7 separate regions of the Homo sapiens genome follow, and regions 1, 2, 4, 5, 6 and 7 are each linked to region 3. Evidence: promoter capture Hi-C in 16 types of primary human blood cells and fetal thymus (Javierre and others, 2016). All regions are on one chromosome and are shown on one strand. The core of a region is centred on a gene start or on the middle of the fragment in contact, and the rest is flanking DNA. Distances in the headings are between cores, read along the strand shown.

Region 1 (2,700 bases), core at 195-2,694, 750 kb before region 3:
ATCTCAGGCTGGCTGCACTAGAAAAACTCAAGGATTCAGAAAAGCTGTGATACTCATGGTTATAGCTTCTTATAGTGAACGGATACAAATTAAAATCAGCAAAAGGCAAAGCACATGGGATGAAGGCCAGTTATCCTCTCTCAACTGACACATGCACAGTGCTTAATTCTCCCAGCACTGAAGTGTGACAAAGGTGTATGAAGTGCTGCCAATTAGGGAAGCTCACCTGAGCCTTGACATCCAGAGTTTTTATTGGGGATCAGTCATGTAGACACAGTGCCTCCATGACTGACCTTAGGTACTCAGTCTCTAGTCCCCTAGAGATCAAACTGATACAGCAGTAGCTCAGGGCCTTAGGTACACGAAAACGTTTTTATCAGACAGGATACTCCACGGGCTCAGAGGTTGTCTCCCAGGAGCCAGTAAAGGGTCAGTCATTTCTTTGAAATGTGCAGAACTTGAGTACCCCAAGCTTACTGTCTGTATTAGTCAGGGTTCTCTAGAGGGACAGAACTAATAGGATAGATGTATATATAAAGGGGAGTTTATTAAGGAGAAGTGACTCACACAGTCACAAAGTAAACTCCCTCTATAGGCCCAAGCTGAGGAGCAAGGAAGCCAGTAGTGGCTCAGTTTGAGTCCCCAAATGTCAAAAGTAGGGAAGCTGACAGTGCAGCCTTCAGTCTGTGGCCAGTGGCCCAAGAGCCCCTGGCAACAACTGGTGTAAGTCCAAGAGTCCAAAAGCCAAAGAACATAGAGTCTGATGTTTGAGGGCAGGAAATAGCCAGCACAGGAGAAAGATGAAGGCTGGGAGACTCAGAAAGTTGGCTCCTTCCACCTTCTTCTGCCTGCTTTTTCTAGCCATGCTGGCAGCCGGTTGCATGGTGCCCACCCACAGTGTGGGTGGGTCTTTCTGAGGGTGAGTCTTCTCCCGGTCCACTGACTCAAATGTTAATCTTTTCTGGCCACACCCAGAAACACCCAGATACTCCCAGAAATGATACTTTGCATCCATCCATCCAATCAAGTTGACACTTAATATTAACCAACACATGGCCTTAACCCTTTACTGCACAGTAAAGAAGCTGGCACTGGAACCCCTGCCTCCTCCAAATCCTTCAAAGCCTGCTATACCCACTGCCAAAGATCTTAGAGCAAAGTGAAGAATTACCTCTGGAGTAATTTCAGAAGACACAAATTGGGTACATATTTCAATTTTCAAAAGGAATTGAAGCCAGATTCAGTGAACCACAAGCAATAAATGTGGGCAAAATTCTAACATAAGTTCCTTATAAGATAGTTGTATAGGCTGGGCCTAGTGGCTCATGCCTGTAATCCCAGCACTTTGGGAGGCGGAGGCTGGCAGATCACGATGTCAGGAGTTCAAGACAAGCCTGGCCAGCATGGTGAAGCCCTGTCTCTACTAAAAATACAAAAATTAGCCAGGTGTGGTGGTGGGTGCCTGTAATCCCAACTACTTGGGAGGCTGAGGCAGGAGAATTGCTGGAACCAGGGAGGCAGAGGTTTCAGTGAGCCAAGATCGCACCATTGCACTCCAGCCTGGCGGATGAGAGTGAAACTCTGTCTCAAAATAAAAAAAGTTGTATAGAAAGGAAGTTGTGGTCATAAAAAACCAGAATGGGTTATTAATTCCACAAACATTTATCAAGAATCTACTATGTATAAAGCGTTGGGGATTTAGCAGTACAGAGTTTGGAATTCTGCAAATGTGTTTTGAGCGTCTGTGCCAGATGTGAAAGGAAAAGTTCCTACCCTCAGAACTCCTTTTAAACAAGTCATGTTATACTAACACAGTTCCTTCTTTGATAAGTTTCCTAGACTGGTAAGTGAAGGAAATCAGCAGGTATGGTTTACCTGCACTTAAGCAAACTATTTGGTAAGGTTTATAATGATATTCTTAAGAACAAGATGATGAAATGTGGGCATTGTAGGAAAAATTACATGGAATATTCACTGGGAAAGGATGCTGTTTAATGGATTAATGTCACTCAAAAGAGATTTTTGGTGTCGTGTAACAGGGCAGCATCTGGGGCCCTGTTCTGACCAAAAATTTAAGTATCATCGACTTGGATGAAGTTATAGAAAGTATGTTTACATCATTTACCATTGACAAGAAGCTAGGAAAAAAGAGTAAGCACATTTGAGAACAGAAAGACCTTCCAGAATGGTAAATTCTGAGCACTTAGCATATGTCAGCCATGGTGATTAGCACAACTCATTTAACCCACATGCAACTGAATTTTTACAGAAATGGACCATTAGGCCCTCACATGTGAATGCTAAAAAATAATTTTCAAGATCAGGTCATAGAAAATATAGGTTAGAGTCAACCTATATGAAAAGTCTTGAGGATTTCAGTCTAGAATGAGCCTTACATGAGTGCAATATAAGCTTTGTGTGAATATAAAATGGCCACCAGAACAGCGAATGTGATCTTGACAGCAATAACAGACTCATCGTGTCTAGAATGAGGGCATTGTTATCAGGTCCTGATAACATAACATGGCTGACTCTCTGCAACAGTTCATATTCCAGGTCTTTTTCTGTCTCAAAGACGCCATGTCCTCTGCTTTTGTTAAAAAAGCAATCTTGGCTGGGCATGGTGGCTCAAGCCTGTAATCCCAGCACTTTGGAAGGCTGAGGTGGGAGGATCACGAGGTCAGGAGTTCGAGACCAGCC
Region 2 (2,870 bases), core at 44-2,543, 770 kb before region 3:
AAAAATTTTGAAAGTCACTAGATAAGATGATCTCTAAGATTCCTTCTAGTGCTTTTAAAAAAAGAAAAAATATTTATTAACAGTTTTTAACTACTTTTTATTAAAAAATAATCTTCAACATTAAACTCTTAATGATTTAGTTCTTTTAACAGGTACATAAAATTAAAAGGATAAGAAATATAAATAGCTAACAAGACAACGATGCCTATTTTTGAAATACCTAAGAACTAGGTTTCTGTAACAAGACGTGCCTGTGGTATTCTATTTATGTTACAGTCATTTTGAGGATCAGTGATTTCACTGTATGACATTCAGCTTTCGTAGCTGAACAGCAAATTGGCTGTTACAAAATTTATACCAGAGTCAATGATGTATTTACATTTTCAGTCATAATATTTCTGAAAATATGCCTGAAATTTACAAGTAAAATCTTTCAGTAATATATAGTGTGCTGTGTTTGTGGTTTGGGGGAGGAGGGGTGAACAACGAATATCTCAATGAACTCAACATATTTTATCTTGGTAAAAAAACCCAAACAAATTCCTTAACGTAAATATATCTTTTTTATTATTAACATAAAAGTGACTTGTTTATTGTATAGATTTTAGAAAATACCAAATAATGTGAAAAAAAAATCATCCATAATCCCATATTAAAGTAAACATTGTTCATCTTTGGGAGTTCAGAAACAAATATTAAACAACTGGCAAAAACCAGTATCAGAAACAGATTCTAAACTCTATGTGTCAGTAAGCACAGTATAAAAATTTACTGAGAAACTGTCAAACACCTTCATTCTAATGCAATTTTTATACTCTGTAATTTTTCAACACCAATATTTTGAAGATTACAGAGCAAGCCACACTGAAGCTTTTCATTTATCAGAGGCACTAAGATTCCTTCCAATTGAATGGCACAGATTTTTATGCCAGTTGATAACCAAAATGAGACATCACATGCAATATGTTCTCCGAGGCTTTTTAAAATCAATCGATCAATCAATCAATCAATCTATGTATCTATGTATCTATCTACCTACCTACCTACCTACCTATCTACCTATCTACCTACCTACCTACCTACCTTACTTATTATTTATTGAGATGGAGTCATCTCACTCTGTCACCCACGCTGGCGTGCAATGGCGTGATCTTGGCTCACTGCAACCTCCGCCTCCTGGGTTCAAGTGATTCTCCTGCCTCAGTCTACCGAGTAGCTGGTATTAAAGGTGTATAGCACCACGCCTGGATACTTTTTTTGGTATTTTTAACAGAGATGGGTTTCACCATGTTGGCCAGGCTGGTCTCGAAATCCTGACCTCAAGTGATCTGCCCGCCTCGGCCTTCCAAAGTATTAGGATTACAGGCATGAGACACCACGCTCGGTCAGGGCTTTTATTTTAATACTTAAACCACTACTACGTCAAGTGTTTTCCACAGGCCAGTTATCTATAATAAGTTCAGAAAATGAGATTGCGTAGAAACTTATTTAGCAATTTTACATTGCCGTATTTTAATTATATTTTACAAAAGTCATCAATCAGTCTGCAATGAACTGGAAATTGTTTTTTAAATGGTCTTTGACAACAGATTTTTTTAAAGAAACAAAAATCATTTTATCAACAATTTATATCACATTTAGAGCAAGAGTTTTAAAACAAAGTTTATTCCAGGAACATAATGAAATTTTTCGCTACCTCTTGGCATACTAAGCTTCCTTCCACGTGCATTTTCATTGACCCTTAGTCCCAGCACTTATAACCAGCACCTAATTACTCATTAGGATACAGATATTACTCTCTCTTTGAGAGATGGAAGAGACCCCTTCTACCAGCAGTTCACAGCTTTCCAGCCTCTCCTGCCTCCAAATAACCCCTTCTCTCTTCTATCAAGTGCCTGGAAAAGTGCTTTTGGATCTATTCAAGGTTACTCTCATATATGAACATACTTTATCATCTTAAAGAGGCCCTACTCTTTTCTTTAATAAACATTTATAACCATTGAACAAAGCATATTTTTGCTCAAAGGGCACAGTTTACAAAATGGTATTGTTTCTATAAAAATTCCAAGGTTTAAAAAAGTCTGTCACTAGAGTTTATGACCTCTAAGTCCCAATCATCTAAGAAATATGATGTTTTAAAAGTCTAAATATAATTTTGTTAAATGATGAGCACTGTAGCATTGTTTCTTTAAGTCTAATTGGTTTTTCAATTAAGAATTTCCAATTTTCAGTCTCGATATTTTCAATCTCAGATATGTTTATAGACATAATTAATACTCAGGAATGATACCCATTCATGCAGTTTACTCAGTTTATTTTTTATTTGATAAAAACCCAATACATGTAGATCATTAAGAACATTAAAGAAAAATAGAACTATTTCAGTATTCTTACCTTGGACCCTGACAACATACTGGTCAACATTTTTGTTCCGCTTCCAATTCCAACAACTACAAATCAAAGAAAGAAATATTATGACACTCTGTTCTGAAAACTAGGTTTTTAAAATAGCTATATTTTTTGGTCATAATTTCCCAGCTTAGGTAATGTGAAGTGGGAAAGAACAGATATTTAGCAAAATGTTAGGGCTCCTATTACTCCAAACAGTTGAACTTGTCATGCAACTAAGAAATTCTAAAGAAGGGACAAGAGAAGACCTTTCTCCCCATTCTCAAAGTATTAAACTCAGTAGAAACCTTAACCCAGCCAATTAGACAATGAAGCCTTAGAACAATCTCAAAGGACGCACTGGAATTTTATATGGGCACCAGTGAAAAACACACGGCACAATTAACCATGTTCAAGTGGGTATGATAAAGTCTTTTGACAGAATTCATTATTAAACAAAGCAAAAGCCATTATCACAGCTA
Region 3 (2,920 bases), core at 326-2,825:
TTCTCCCTCTAGGATACCACAGGCTGGAGTTCTTTTAACAACAAAAGTGTATGCACAGATACTCAGCTGTCATTTTTTTCCTTCTCTGATGTTTGCTTTTGTCTTCCTGGCAACCCCATGTATTCTGCAAGAACCATTCTACTCAAAGAAAACACTCCGGTTTTGGCTGGGCGCTGTGGCTCACGCCTGTAATCCCAGCACTTTGGAGGCCGAGGTGGGCGGATCACCTGAGGTGAGGAGTTGGAGACCAGCCTGGCCAACATGGTGAAACCCTGTCTCTACTAAAAATACAAAAATTAGCAGGGCGCCGGTGGCTGGCCTGTAATCCCAGCTACTAGGAAGGCTGAGGCTGGAGAATCGCTTGAACCCGGGAGGCGGAGGTTGCAGTGAGCTGGGATCGCGCCATTGCACTCCAGCCTGGGCAACAAGAGTGAAACTCTTACTCAAAGAACAAACAAAAACACTCCGGTTTTAAACAGACAAAACGCAACGCTTCGGTAAAGCATGAGCTCTTAAGTCAGCCAGGTAAGTCTCGTCTTCCTCATTTAGCCACGCTATCTTGGGCAAATCACTTCATCTTTCTAGGATTCAGCGACTGTAAAATGCAGAGGGCAGTAGTTAACTTCCTCACAAATCCTAATCACGAGAATTAAATGAGAGACGAAGTAAATCACTTAGCACAGTGGCTAGTACTTCCTAAGGGCTTAAAGGGCAGCTATTATTTCTGCTTTACTTTTATACCACTCCTACAAGCACAAAATTTCTTCCATTCCTGTGGAACCAGCTTGCAGGCTTAAGATGAAAATAATTTGAGGACTAAAGTATTTTTATTTCGTTATTCCTACAGATAAACAAGGGAGACGTGGGAAGTTGGAATAACTTACCAAACCACCCAGGGCCAGCACCTTACACAGTTTAGATAAAAACGCAGGTCAGACTCCACGGCCTTGGATTTAAGCATACAGCACCGTGCTGCCTCACTAAGGAAGCTGGAAGCATTTAGCTCCCTTAGTTCAGAAGCCCAGCAGGGCTAACGTATTTATAGCAAGGACCCTAGGGCCCGGAAAAGCTACTGGCACACAGCAGGAACTCCTTAAACAAACTAGCGCCAGCTGACCCACATCTAAGTAAATGCCCTAGCACATCTTCCTTTCCTATAGGAGGAAAGTAGGGAAAAAAAAGTCTAGTAAATGTTAATATTGTTTGTATCGTAATTTTTAGTCAAACGAAGGCACTGAATCCACATGCAAGTTTCTCTTAGAGAGAAGGTGAACGTTTGCATTTGAAGGAGTGATGCCTGGAAGCGCTATTTCCAAACTCAGAGAATCCTCCCACACCAAACCCTCGCAGCAAGGTTCCAAGTCTCCTCTCTCCACTTCCAGGCCCCTTGTACCCGCTCAACGCCCAACCTCAACGTCCAGCGCCCAACGTCTGGCCCCCAACGACCGAAGCCCCCTCCCTTCCCCTTCATGCAGGCCCTCTCCCTCCCCTATACGCCTGGGAACCCTGACCTGGAAAGAGGCAAGAGGACCGCGGATCCGAACCTGTCTCTGCGGTCTGGCGGTGATGGCGACTGCCGATGCTGGGAGCCCTGCCGCCTGGGATGCGCCCTGCACTTCCCTCGCCTCCAATCCCCAGTGCGCCCTCCTGGCCTCAGCGCACGCCTGCGCACTCCGCGTCCACGTGCAACTCAATGTGCCCACGTGTTCCCTCCGCCTTCCCCGGAAGCAGCTTGTGCTCTAGTTACAGGCTCAAAAAGTTCCTTTGCAGAAACTTTTATTTTGTTCTAGCTTCTTCTAGAAAGATGTCTCTGGCAACGCCTTTGGCAAATTTGGGCGCAAAGATGCAGACTTTGTCTCCTCGAAGGTCACTTGGGTCACCGTGGCCACTTAAAGGTCTTCCAAGGTTTTCCAAATAATCAACAGCCTCTGCCTGGTCTTGGAAAGTAAACACACACGTGCTCATACTTTTTTTCTTTGCTTCCTGACTGAGGGCATGTGATTATACCTGTTGGTGTTACTTAAAGACAAGCTTTTTAAGTTTTGTTTTTTTTTTTTTTTGCTATGGAACTTTTCTAACAATTTCATAAGGGAACCCTTGTGTGCCTATCATCTAGTTTCTACCTTATCAATTCATGGTTAATCTTGTCTACATCTGCAGCCCAGGCACTCTTCGGGCAATGTTTTGAAGCAAATCCGAGAATTGTAAATGTGAGACAAAGTAGCGAACGTCTGCTTCTGGCCCCCAGCATAGTCCTCCCTCACTGTGAAAAAGCCACGTTTGTTCACTGTGTTTGTCAGCATTTCAGACCCCTTGACTTAGTAACATCTCAGCCCTCCAGAAGAATGCCTTGAAGACTGCGGAGAGAACTCAGGTTCCCACCTCTCAGAGTCACTGCATTTTTAGAAAAGATACTTTCAGAGATCTAGGCCTTGCCTTTTTCTGTACCTAACGGACAAGATTAATGATGATGCCTAGACTTACTCTCGCACCCAAACTTTGAAAATATTTTGATCTTATATAGCTTCTGGGCACTTTTAATGTAACCCCTGGGCAGAACCTCTACCACCTAATATTTAAAGTGTGCTGACCCACTGCTTTGGAGTAGTTTAACAGAAATTCTCTGGGCTCTCCCTGGTTGCAGTCCTCAGTAAGACTCTGAATAAAACTAACTTCACTAACTTCAATTCTTTAAAAGCCTGATTTTTTTTCTTTAGTTGATGTGTCTTTTAAATTTATTTTTTAGAGCAGTTTCAGATTTACAGAATAGTGAAATGAAAGTGCTGACTGGGCGTGGGGGCTCATGCCTGTAATCCCAGCACTTTGGGAGGCCGAGGCAGGCAGATCACTTGAGGTCTGGAGTTCGAGACCAGCCTGGCCAACATGGTGAAACCCCGTCTCTACTTAAAATAAAAAAATA
Region 4 (2,866 bases), core at 33-2,532, 620 kb before region 3:
AGTAACAGCAACAAGGTGGGGTGGAGGTTGGTATAGCCAAATGGCTTAAAGCTAAAAGGAGTAGGAATTTTGACATGACAGTGGAAAAGCAAGGTCTGGGAGTAGCAGTGGGGAGGGAGGAGATTACCAACCTTAAAGATCATGTAGTTCAAAGACTTCTATAGATAAGGAAACTGGGGTCAGAGAGTGGTAGCCAGCCTCCAAGATATTCCCCAGTGAGCCCCACTTTATGGTATTCACACCCTTGTGTAGTACCCTCCTGCAGTGTACCAGGGTCAGTTTATGTGAAGGGTAGAATACAGCAGAAGTATGTTATGTCTGAGATTAGGTTTAAAGGCTAGTGTTCACTCTTGTCTAGTTGCCCTCTTGCTCTTGGGTCTTCACTCTGGGGAAAGCCAACTGACATATCACAAACAACCCTGGAGAGACCCACATGGCAAGGAACTGAAGCCTCTTGCCAGCAACCATGTGAGTGAGCTTAGAAGTAGATCCCCCAGCTCCAGTCAAGCCTTCAGATGACAGCAGTTCCAGCTGACATCTTTATCGCAACCTCTTGAGAATCCCTGAGCCCTGTGGGACCTGTTACGCCACTCCTGAATTCCCAACCCACAGAAACTGTGAGATAATATGTTTGTTGTTTTAAGCCTCTATGCTTGGGGTAATTTGTTAAGCAGCAATAGATAAATAATACTGAAAAATTTTGAAGCTTACCCAAAGTCACAAAGCTAGTTAGTGGCCAACATGAAGTGAGAACACAGGGCTCCTGCCTCTCAAGTCAAGGTTCTGTAAGATCACACATATCTGAGGATATCTTGGCCTCCTTTTGTAGTGGATGCCCATAAATTCAGGAGGTGGTAATAACTACCTGAAAATACTGAATAGGTCATAGTTTGGCTTTTTTATAGGCAAAATAAAATAAAAACAAGGACATGCTTTCTCATGGAATATGGAATAATATTTAGTATGATAAGTAATTTTACATCCCTACCATATAGTAATATGCAAGTATTTCTAAGGCAGGCTTATATCTTTTTGCCACAATTTCTGGAAGAATTGAGAGGATTAATTCAGGTTTGTGCGACCACTGAGTGGTAAAACCAGAAATGTAATTTCTTTTTTTTTTTTTTTGAGATGGAGTCTCGCTCTTGTTGCCCAGACTGGAGTACAATGGTGTGATCTCAGCTCACTGCAACCTTTGCCTCCCGTGTTCAAGCAATTCTCCTGCCTCAGCCTCCCAAGTGGCTGATACTACAGGCTCGTGCCACCACGCCTGGCTAGTTTTTTAATATTTTTAGTAGAGACAGGGTTTCACCATTTTGGCCAGGCTGGTCTCAAACTCCTGACCTCAGGTGATCCGCCCACTTCGGCCTCCCAAAGTGCGGAGATTACAGGTGTGGGCTACTGCACCCAGCCCAGAAGTGTAATTTCTACTAGGCTTCTTTTGACCACTTGACAAGGATGGCATAGTGGACCTGGTATTAGTTATCCCACTTAAGCACTTCAATGTAAGTCTGACCTTTTTGTGCGGTGAATGAGTGACAGGGTCTAGTGTCTGCATTCTGCCTATTCCCTCTAAATGTAATATTCAGAGAAGGGCAGACTGCCAGAAAGGCACTTTGTGTCTTCTATTTGCATGCCATAGACGCTACCATTTGTATGCGCATGACTATTAGGTCAAAGAATGTTTGTGTGACCCTTTGATTTATAATCTGGGTCTCAGTTTTTAAAAAATGTGATTATATGATATTTTTATTTTTTTCTTCCTTAAAAATAGAACTAGAAAAGTGAGAGGGTTGGTTTAAGTTTCATTAGAACATGGAGTTTTTTAAAAAATTAATCTCAAGTGTGTTCAAGCTTTCAATTTCCTTAAATCTCATAAAAATTCAGATGTATGTCCAATTATTCCTCATTACAGCCAGGAAGTTAATTTGCTGTCATATATTCTCAGCATTAGGGAGATTCTTGAATGTTTTCCTGTATTTTTTCTCACTATACTTGAAAAAAATAGATTTGCCAGCTATTCCCTGGTTTTACTTGTACTCCTGAGAGTCAAAGAAAGACAATTTTCACTTCCTTGACATTTTAGCACTTTCCTGGCTATGATCCAGCTAATTAACTGTGGGTCAAGCTTGCTTTAGATAAAGTACTATTTTATATTAAAAAGGTTAGTGATTAGTATGTAGTTTGAATTTTATTTTACAAAATTTCAGCATTAAAAAACATCAGCATCAAGAAACCCCAAAAAACACAAATATGTATCCTCAATTACTGATGTTACTCATTTTTCTAGTTGTATCTCATTTTTCAGAAACCTCAGATGTTCATAATCAAACTTACATTTGTAAATTCCTTTGATTTTTTAAATGAACCTATAAATGGTTCTTAGTAAAAATTCATTCATTCATTCAGCAAAACTTACTGAGTACTTATTATGTGCCAGGTACATTTTTTGGTTGTTGGGCATATGGGAATAAATAAGACATACGAAGTCTATGTTTTCATGGCACTTGCATTGTAATTGGGGATGAGAATCAATAAACAAAAGAGATATAATATATCAAATGGTGACTAAATGTAGTGAAGAGAAAATGAAGCAGGGTAAGAGGATAGCGAACACGAATAAGTAGAGGGGTCAAGCTATGTATGTATCTGGGACAGAAATATTCCGGAGAGGAAGACTAGTGCAAAGGCAAGTTAACCAAACCTAGTAGGTCCAGACACATCCAGGAGACTTGTGTAGCCACAGCAGAGTCCAAGAGGAGATGGGATCCATGGAGAAGCAGCGGCCAGACTGCATGGTGCCTACAGGAGATGGAAAGGAATTTGGTTTTAGCTTGATCACTTCTGGCTGCTGCGTGAAGAGACT
Region 5 (2,895 bases), core at 135-2,634, 660 kb before region 3:
AAAATAAAATAAGCTGGGTGTGGTGGCTTGCACCTATGGTCCTAGGCCTTGGGAGGCTGAGTGAGGCAGGAATATTGCTTGAGCCTGGGAGGTTGAAGCTGTGGTGAGCTGTGATCATGCCACTGCACTCCAGCCTGGGCACAGAGCAAGACCCTGTCTCAAAAAAATTTAAAAAAAGAGAACCCAAGAAACTACTCAGGGGACATTTTTACCAGTGTCTTTAGGATAGAAATAAGATTTGCTTGAAATGCTGGTGCTCCCTCCCCCAATCCACATACCAAAACACAAAAAGACTCTTAACTGAAGCAAATTAGCAAATTGTTAGCTTCAAGGCAAAAGTATCTTGCTTTCCATTTGAACATAAGAGCAGAAATCAGATTACACAAGTAGGTTAAAATTCACCATAAACTAACTTCTCCCAGGGCCTATCATCATAGAAACATATTAAAGGCTGAATGAATTCAGGGTTCTACTTCCAAAGTTATATTATACTAATTATAAATCACTTTTATTGCTGTTAAAAGTATAGGTTAGACCAATCTTCTTGAGAAATTGAGTTCACAGAACATATTTATTAAAAGCAAACAACTCTATGGGACTCAATGAATACTCCAAACAATTTGCCAATTTCCAACAAAATCAATGGCATATTGGCCGGGTGCAGTGGCTCACATCCCAGCACTTTGAGAGGCTGAGGCAGGCGGATCACTTGAGGTCAGGAGTTCGAGACCAGCCTGGCCAACATGGTAAACCCTGTCTCTACTAAAAATACAAAAATTAGCTGGGCGTGGTGGCATGTGCCTGCAATCCCAGCTACCAGGGAGGCTGAGGCAGAATAATCACTTGAATCTGGGAGGCAGAGGTTGCAGTGAGCCGAGATCATGCCACTGCACTCCAGCCTGGGCAACAGAGCAAGACTCCACCTCAAAAAAAAAAAAAAAAAACCAATGGCATATCATACTCTTTATGAAAGTAAAACATTTCATTCAATTTAAAATACTAGTAATATTGTTGGGAGAGGCGTCTCAAATAAGAACAGCAAGAGGAAGGATGTTAGTATAGCACTCTGTCCTTCAATCAATGTTTCTCAAAGTAAGACTCAAGATTGTTGGTATCCTGGTCTTCTGTGGGGCTTGATAAAAATGCAGATTCCTGGGTCCCATCCGGACCTGTTGAATATCTGGAGGTGGAGCCAAGGAATGTGCATTTTAGAAAAATTTCCTAGGTGATGAGGAACTGTGGCTTTAACACTTTGGTTCCTACTAAAACTGTTCCCCTTCTGTTTTAGGGATCTCATCAGTACCCACAACATAGTCACACACATAGCTTCTAAATCTCTTAAACTTAAACTTCCCTCCCAAATCAAAGATTTGCAATACCGAATACCTGCTAATTATCTCCATCAGGAAATCATGATGACTCAAAGCATCCGGAACCAAAATTATCATCTTCCCCTCAAAATCAGCTCCCTTGGGGCCCCTGTTTTTCTACTAGCAGCAGCCTTATTGGTTCAGGAATTCCAGCATTCAAATCATCCTTTCCCAGCTTCTGCATCTGAGCAGTTACAAGGCCATATAGAGCCTACCTCTAGTCTGAAGTTACGCATTTCATTCCAACCCACTGCTTCCAACTTGGTCGTAGTCCTTGTTACTTCTTGCCTGGGTTACTCCATCAGTTTCCAAATTAGTTTCCCTGATTTTATCTCTCCTCTCAAAGAATCTGCCATATAAAAGGCTGCTGCCAATTTAACTTAAGGCACAGATACCATCACATAATAACATCCCTGCTCAAAAATAGTTAATGGCTCCCCAGTATCTACAAGTAAGAATAAACTCTTCACCTTGTCATTCAAAGCCTTTGACAATACTTAGTCTATCTGTTCAGGTGCTTCTTGCCACACATCTTAATTATACTGTTTCCTGAACACACCACAAACTTTTACATCTTCATTCCTTATGTTCACCCACTCTAAACATGTCAAGGCTCATTTGTCTGTATTTATTTATTTTTTATAGAGATGAGGTCTTGCTATGTTGCTCAGGCTGATCTCGAACTCCTGGGCTCAAGCAATCTGCTTGCCTCAGCCTCCCAAAGTGCTAGGATTACAGGTGTGAATCACCGCGCCCAGCCTCATTTCAAAGATGACCTCTTCCAGGAAGACTTTCTTGATGACCTAGAGCTGATGAATCTCTCCATCCTGTAAGTACTTAAGGAATTTACTTTGTATCTTTCCTTTGATTCTCACCTTACTCTACTTTAGATTACAGTATCTGAACATTCATTTACTGTCTTCACCAGACTGTAAACTCCTTTAGGACAAAGACTGTTTCTTTTCTTTTTTTTTTTTTTTTTTTTGAGACAGAGTCTCGCTCTGTCGCCCAGGCTGAAGTGCAGTGGCGTGATCTTGGCTTACTGCTACCTCTGCCTCCTGGGTTCAAGCAATTCTCCTGCCTCAGCCTCCTGAGTAGCTGGGACTATAGGCATGGGCCACCAAGCCCGACTGATTTTTTGTATTTTTAGTAGAGAAGGGGTTTCACTGTGTTAGCCAGGATGATCTTGATTGATCTCCTGACCTTATGATCTGCCCGCCTCAGCCTACCAAAGTGCTGGGATTACAGGCATGAGCCACCGCGCCCGGCCGGCAAAGACTGTTTCTAACTCATCTACCATATATATTTAACCAATAGTAGATGCAAATATTGGCTGACAGTAATGAATAGAGAAAGATGACATTTCAGGGAATACATGCTTGAGAACTGCAAAGCACTTTTGTTCTTATCTATACTTATAAGTAATAAAACTGCATTTCTGGCTGGCCATGGTGGCTAATGCCTATAATCCTGGCACTTTGGGAGGCTGAGGTGGGTGGATCACCTGAGGTTGGGAGTTTGAGAC
Region 6 (2,700 bases), core at 120-2,619, 680 kb before region 3:
GAAATATTCAGCTGTCAACAGAAGGTAAGAAAAACTGGTGATGCAGTACAATGTTTCACTAACAAATTGAACTCACTGTGAGAGCTTCTACTGGCTCTAGGTCTGAACTAAATATAAAAGAAAAAAGAAGGGATGAAAAACAGAAACTTAGAAACAAATGAAATCTTAAGCCTTAGCTGATTACAAATTAAAGTCATTACAACAACTTAGAAAAATTATATTTTCAGAAGCAGCATACATATACACAAATATAAGAGTTAAAGCTTTTCTGAGCTTGGTTTCATGGACTAGTTATAAGGTCCCATAGTGGAATCAAGGATAAAAGAGTATTTGGTTTCAGAGGTAATATCATTGCTACTACACCTATTGAGCACTATGAAAACATTAAGAAATATCTAATATCTCTTAATGCCTTAGTTTAAATACTCATATATCAAAGTAGACTGTTACTACATCTAGAAATGTAAATGTCGAAGTTTTCCTTGTATGAAGTGATTAAAAAAATACAGCAAACTGAATGCCTTCACATCATTCAAAATGATTTAAAGAAAATTACGCACAAAATAACTATCTCCCACTTCTGTTTTTTCTTTGTTTTACTTAATAAATTTCTTAGAATAAGCTAACAAAGATTTGCATGAAATTAGAGGTTTAGTCTTTTTGTTGTTTTAACAGTGGTAAGCATTCTAGAGCTGAGGCTATTCATAATCTTTTGATATTCTGTTCTTAATAAATAGCAAGAACAAACTATGAAATAAACCAGAAAAGCTAACACAACAAAATGAGCAGATAGGTGTAAAACAAGCCTCTATGCACATGCCACACAATGCGTATATGCAAACATGCTACATAAAATAACTTCCTAGAGGGGGTAGTGACAGTTCCCTTCAAGCCGGAACCTTTGATAGCCTGTTCCCCCAAATATCAGTAAATGGAAAGATGAAGAAGAAAGTGCTGCGGCTTAACATGTCAAATAAAAACAAACAATAGCTTAAAAGCATTATTTGAGTGATCAGCATCACTTAAAGGAAAAATAGAAAGTGGACTGGCAAACACGATTTTGTCAATCAAGTACAAGCATGCTGTGCCCAGCGCAGCTTTGCTGAACTACAGGTTCCTACATGTACACCCATTCACATACATACCCAATTTCCCCAAATCCTTTAACATGTAAATAGGACATTTAAAACTCTGTTTTCTTTAATCTCTTTAGAATCATTTAAAACAAAAGACTGAACAAAATAGAAAAAAATGTAAACATCGAGGAGCCACTGGCACTTTGATTGCTGCCAAGGGTTATCAGTCAGTTCCCCACCTAGACACCACCATGCGTTTCAGTAAGAAAATCAAATTATAAAGCAATTTTATAAAGCAATTTTCTGAGAGGGAGAGGGGGGAAAAAGGTTCTCAACCCAGTACATGTTACTTAGCTTAAAAAAATACAATTTTAGCAAACACTACCAATGGTGAGCAAATTGAACACTGCTGCGAAAACGACACAGTTTAAATAAACTGGGACCCACACATGAAGAAAATCACTAACATGGCTATGTGCACAAAAGAGTAAAAGAACATTTCTTTAAAAATATAGATATATTATATTAATCAAGAATTTATCATATTAAATTGTTATTCTTAAAAAAGCTGAAGAAAGTTAATGGTGCTCTACACATTTTTATCGCCTATAATTAATTCATTCAATGGTTTCTGAATTGTATTTTTTTCTCATTTACAGTTTTCATATTTTGTTTGATAAGAATTCTGACCTTAAAAAGTTATAAAATTAGTGATTTTTTTTTGCTACTTATTAATCCAAAAGAATACAAGCATTTGAGTCCCAGAGAATGTCAAAATGCCTTGCTACCTAAAAGGACATTAATATAACAGAAATATCATCAAAGTCATGACATTGGAAATATTGCAGCTTTTCACAGTCATTAGAAATGCTTATTTCCTGAAGTTCCTTTGATTGTATCCTGGATTCAACAATGTGCAATTGTATATATAGAACCATTATGATAAAGCCAATGAAAACAACATTATACAACATTTCACCAAGAATGTCCACTCAATAGGTTCTTAATGGTTCTGTCCAGTTTACAGCAATACTGCGTTTAAAAAGGCTTTTTATCCTCTTGTGGCTGGGTGGAACTGAGTCTTTTTTGGTGAAATGTACACAGTAGTTCTGTTCCCCCAGTTACATGAAAGATGTTATTTATGGTGTGGAGGAAGCATGATATTTTACAAATGCGATTGCCGCCAGCTCCTTACAGAACTCTTCTAACACAATCACACCCTCTAGCAGTGTGATGTGGTCAATACTGGTAAGGAAAAAACAGACAATAAATCAATTCAAGATAGCAGCCGATCATTAAGTTCACTGAAATTTTTGGATTAAAAAAATGTAAAACACTAACTTACATAGGGCCTTCAGGTTCCAAACCAAGTAACCGCTTTCTGACTAACAGAAGCTTGGGAGTAAAGTCTTGAATACGCTGGATTCGAAGCATAAGGTCTCCAACAACCTGCATCACAGAGGCAAGGCACTTCAGTTCCTGAAATCAGCTACACAGACAACCTCAGGATCTAAAAAGAAAAATCTTCCTTCCCTACTATTTAATAAAGAACGTAAACTTTCACTACTCATATAATCATCTTTAACCAAGGACTCATACCTAATTCTTTAAAATAAAAGTTACA
Region 7 (2,872 bases), core at 301-2,800, 640 kb before region 3:
CTGCTCTACATTTATGAAACCCTGTTTTTCCTGTTTGATACATTTTCCCAAGAGCTTGCCCTAGAGCTAAATTTTTTAACGCTTCTCATGTATCACTTAAATAACAATTGTACTAAAGTTTGTTTTTATTACTGAAGGCAAAAACTCCATTTTTGCCTGCCCATAAAAAATCATTGTTGTATCTGACATTTTTAAAGTGTACATTTTAAAGTGTCCTATCACATAATATGAACATAGGAAGAGAATGTCATGTTAAAAATTAGCAAAGTAATTGTTTCTGCACAGAATGCATTTTTCAATTTGGGCAGTTCTCCCAGAATAAAGTAAACAAGTGAAGCAACTAGCATTCTTACTAGAACAGTGACAAGGCATTTTCTTTTTAGTTTCTTTTCACTTATTAGTCTACTAGGATACTTGAATACTGTCTCTATGCTGGTGTCTAAAACCCTCAAAGGAGAGTACAATTGCAGGATAAACGAAGAGTGTCCAGGAAGAGAACTAGACAAGAAAGGAAACAGATGGTCTCTGGGCTCGGTGAGCTTGGAAGCTGTCGAAAGCAAACTCGACTGGACCCTCCAAACTCCTATTTCAGATCAATACATAAGGTTCAGCTGAGTTCGGCCTCCAGGCCCAAGAAAGCAAAAGCCAGCAACCCGGGGGCTGGTCGGCGGCTCCCTCGCCAGGGACGCCCCACAGCGAGACCATGCCTCTCCCACCTCTACCCCCGAAAACCAAAACAAAACAGAACCAAGCCCAAGCGGTGCTTGCTCGTTTCTTTTGTCTTGCTCAACGCTGACCACTTTTTTTCCGGAGAAGGTTAACGTTAAGGGAGCCCGGGGGAGCTCTCTGCGACCCCGCCAGGTGCTCCCCGAACCCCCGGCCCCATCAGAGGAATGAGGCGACCACCGAGCGGCGTTGGGCGGCCAGGTCCTCCCCGGCACCCCCGCCCCGGCTCCTGGAGGAGGGCAGGGACTGCCGGCCTGGGGCAGCCAGGGACCGACGGGACCCCCGCAGAGCCAGGCCCGAGGCCCCGGGCGCCCCCACGACCCGGCGGCCGCCCAGGGCGCCCGCCTGGGGCCTCACCCCAACCGGGGACAGGGCCGCCGAGGGCCGGGCCAAGGCCGCCCGGCTTGTCCCCGAGGCCGCCGGGGAGCGTAGGCCGCCGCCATCCCCGGCCTGCCGTGCGCCCGCAGCCCGCGGCCTTACCGCCTCCACGGCGTGCTGCAGGATGGAGGTGAACTTGGAGAACATCCTGTCCCGGGACTGCAGCAGCCTCTCCCGGGACGACCTGGAGAGCTCCTCGATCCGCCGCCGCCGCCCCTGCTGCGGCTGCCGGGGCCGCTCCAGAGTGAAGGCCGGTGCGGGGCGGGGAGGACGAGCTGAGGATCGAGGCAGGGCCTGGCCCGGCCGCTTCAGGTGTGCGCGGGCGGCTCGGCGGCTCCGGAGGGCGCCGGGACGCGGCGGGCGGCGAGGAGGGCGTTCGGCGAGGACTCGGGGCCCGGAGAAGCTCCGGCGGCGGCACCGGTTGGGACACGGTGGCAGCCCGGCTCGGGTTCCTTCCCCCCGCTCTGCCCGCCGCGGCCTGCAGGGGGCGCCGCCGCAGCCCGGGGAGGCCCGGCCAGGCCTGCCCTGCGGCGGGGCCGCTAGGCGCCGCGGGGGCGGGGGGCGCGCTGAGGCCTCGGCCTCGCGCGGGGCTGGAGGCGGCCTGTGGGCAGCCACCGCCCTCTCCCGGCTTTCTCAGGGCGCCTGGGACACCGGCTTTCTAACATTTTTACAGCTCAGCGATTCTCAAGAGTTTTGTTTCTCCAGTGGAAGTAACAGGCTGACTTTGTAGGGACACGCAGCCGTCCATATATGCGTATAGCATTCAGAGGTTCTTCCTGTAAGGACCGATTTGGAAGACTCGTTAAGAAAACAGTGTTCTTTAAGCAAACATTGGCAATGGATTTAAATGCTCAGATTTTGAAGAAATCAACGACTGCAGGTGAAATGGCTTTGCTAACTTTAAAATATATTATTATTCAACATTGAAACAGGAAATCCCACATGAGCACATGGTAAGACGGCTGGCTTAGTTTAAATAGCCCATTATAATATTTATATATAATATATAACATAATTTATTTGTGATATGGTTGATAGTGAGGTGTAGTGATTCAGAACAGCATTTTCTATTCAGTTATCAGATGATACCGGAAAACATTAGCGAGGGAAAGAATCTGAAAGGAGTCCAGTAAATGCCTAAGGCAGATAAATAGAGCTACAAGGTAAGCACTTGGGTGGAGGCTGCTTAAAATACTCCCTAACAGTGTATTAGTCAAGCCTTGAAGAAGCAGTTCAGGCTGGTAAAGTTTAGGTTGAGTTAATACAAATTATGAAAATATTTGTATCCTGAAGAAATTTGTTTTATGCTGGTATTGGCGTTTTACCAAAAGGTTCATTAAGTTCTTAAGATGAGGTGGGGAGTGAGTTTTGCACAACCAGTGCTGAAAATACGTATCTGGCCCAGGCGCGGTGGCTCACGCCTGTAATCTCAGCACTCTGGGAGGCAAAGGCGGGAGGATCACTTGAGGCCAGGAGTTCGAGACCAGCCTGGCCAACATGGTGAAACTCCGTCTCTATTAAAAATACAAAAAAAAAAAAAAAAAAAAAATTAGCCGAACGTGGTGGTGTAATGGGATTACATGCTTGTAATCCCAGCTACTTGGGAGGCTGAGGCAGGAGAATCCTTGAACTCGGGAGGCGGAAGTTGCAGTGAGCCAAGGTTGCGCCATTGCGCTCCAGCCTGGACAACAAGAGCAAAACTCCATCTCAAAAAAAAAAAAAAAAATACACACACACACACACACACACACACACACACACACACATA

Evidence for each region. Contacts are between HindIII fragments. The CHiCAGO score rates a contact against its expected background, and 5 or more counts as called.
Region 1: a contact is called between a fragment that was not itself captured here and the fragment with the promoter of TDRD1 in region 3, in 4 of 17 cell types (activated CD4 T cells, naive CD4 T cells, total CD4 T cells and 1 more). The highest score is 7.3, in activated CD4 T cells.
Region 2: a fragment that was not itself captured here is called in contact with the fragment with the promoter of TDRD1 in region 3 in 4 of 17 cell types (total CD8 T cells, naive CD8 T cells, activated CD4 T cells and 1 more); the score reaches 6.6 in total CD8 T cells.
Region 4: a fragment that was not itself captured here is called in contact with the fragment with the promoter of TDRD1 in region 3 in 7 of 17 cell types (naive CD4 T cells, total CD4 T cells, naive CD8 T cells and 4 more); the score reaches 8.4 in naive CD4 T cells.
Region 5: a contact is called between a fragment that was not itself captured here and the fragment with the promoter of TDRD1 in region 3, in 1 of 17 cell types (total CD4 T cells). The highest score is 5.5, in total CD4 T cells.
Region 6: a fragment that was not itself captured here is called in contact with the fragment with the promoter of TDRD1 in region 3 in 1 of 17 cell types (total CD4 T cells); the score reaches 6.9 in total CD4 T cells.
Region 7: a contact is called between the fragment with the promoter of FHIP2A here and the fragment with the promoter of TDRD1 in region 3, in 16 of 17 cell types (naive CD8 T cells, total B cells, activated CD4 T cells and 13 more). The highest score is 34.7, in naive CD8 T cells.

The regions. Positions count from the first base shown.
Region 1 is chr10:114,929,507-114,932,206 of GRCh38, reverse strand. No RefSeq gene overlaps it. Among named protein-coding and RNA genes, the nearest start is that of TRUB1, 7.3 kb to the left of the region's middle. The HindIII fragment of the contact is 1,940 bases long and covers 475-2,414 here.
Region 2 is chr10:114,950,674-114,953,543 of GRCh38, reverse strand. It overlaps TRUB1 (TruB pseudouridine synthase family member 1), which reads right to left. Exons shown (of 8, transcript NM_139169.5): 3 at 2,395-2,450. Among named protein-coding and RNA genes, the nearest start is that of TRUB1, 14 kb to the right of the region's middle. RefSeq lists a silencer at 228-277. The HindIII fragment of the contact is 842 bases long and covers 873-1,714 here.
Region 3 is chr10:114,178,008-114,180,927 of GRCh38, reverse strand. TDRD1 (tudor domain containing 1) reads right to left here and starts at 1,575. Exons shown (of 25, transcript NM_001395205.1): 1 at 1,512-1,575. The HindIII fragment of the contact is 8,256 bases long and covers 1-2,033 here.
Region 4 is chr10:114,793,972-114,796,837 of GRCh38, reverse strand. It overlaps a transcript of ABLIM1 not described here. Among named protein-coding and RNA genes, the nearest start is that of FHIP2A, 26 kb to the left of the region's middle. The HindIII fragment of the contact is 1,148 bases long and covers 709-1,856 here.
Region 5 is chr10:114,839,342-114,842,236 of GRCh38, reverse strand. The region is part of intron 5 of FHIP2A (FHF complex subunit HOOK interacting protein 2A); the gene reads right to left. Among named protein-coding and RNA genes, the nearest start is that of FHIP2A, 19 kb to the right of the region's middle. The HindIII fragment of the contact is 4,538 bases long and covers 1-2,895 here.
Region 6 is chr10:114,861,056-114,863,755 of GRCh38, reverse strand. FHIP2A (FHF complex subunit HOOK interacting protein 2A) reads right to left here. Exons shown (of 17, transcript NM_020940.4): 16 at 2,422-2,525; 17 at 1-2,321. The coding sequence ends at 2,216. Among named protein-coding and RNA genes, the nearest start is that of FHIP2A, 41 kb to the right of the region's middle. The HindIII fragment of the contact is 2,208 bases long and covers 266-2,473 here.
Region 7 is chr10:114,820,458-114,823,329 of GRCh38, reverse strand. It overlaps FHIP2A (FHF complex subunit HOOK interacting protein 2A), which reads right to left and starts at 1,550. Exons shown (of 17, transcript NM_020940.4): 1 at 1,207-1,550. The coding sequence starts at 1,251. LOC124902508 (translation initiation factor IF-2-like) reads left to right here and starts at 382. Exons shown (of 2, transcript XM_047426127.1): 1 at 382-2,057. The coding sequence starts at 1,229. The coding sequence ends at 1,834. RefSeq lists silencers at 852-1,071, 1,132-1,481, 1,492-1,801 and an enhancer at 646-1,146. The HindIII fragment of the contact is 9,749 bases long and covers 1-2,872 here.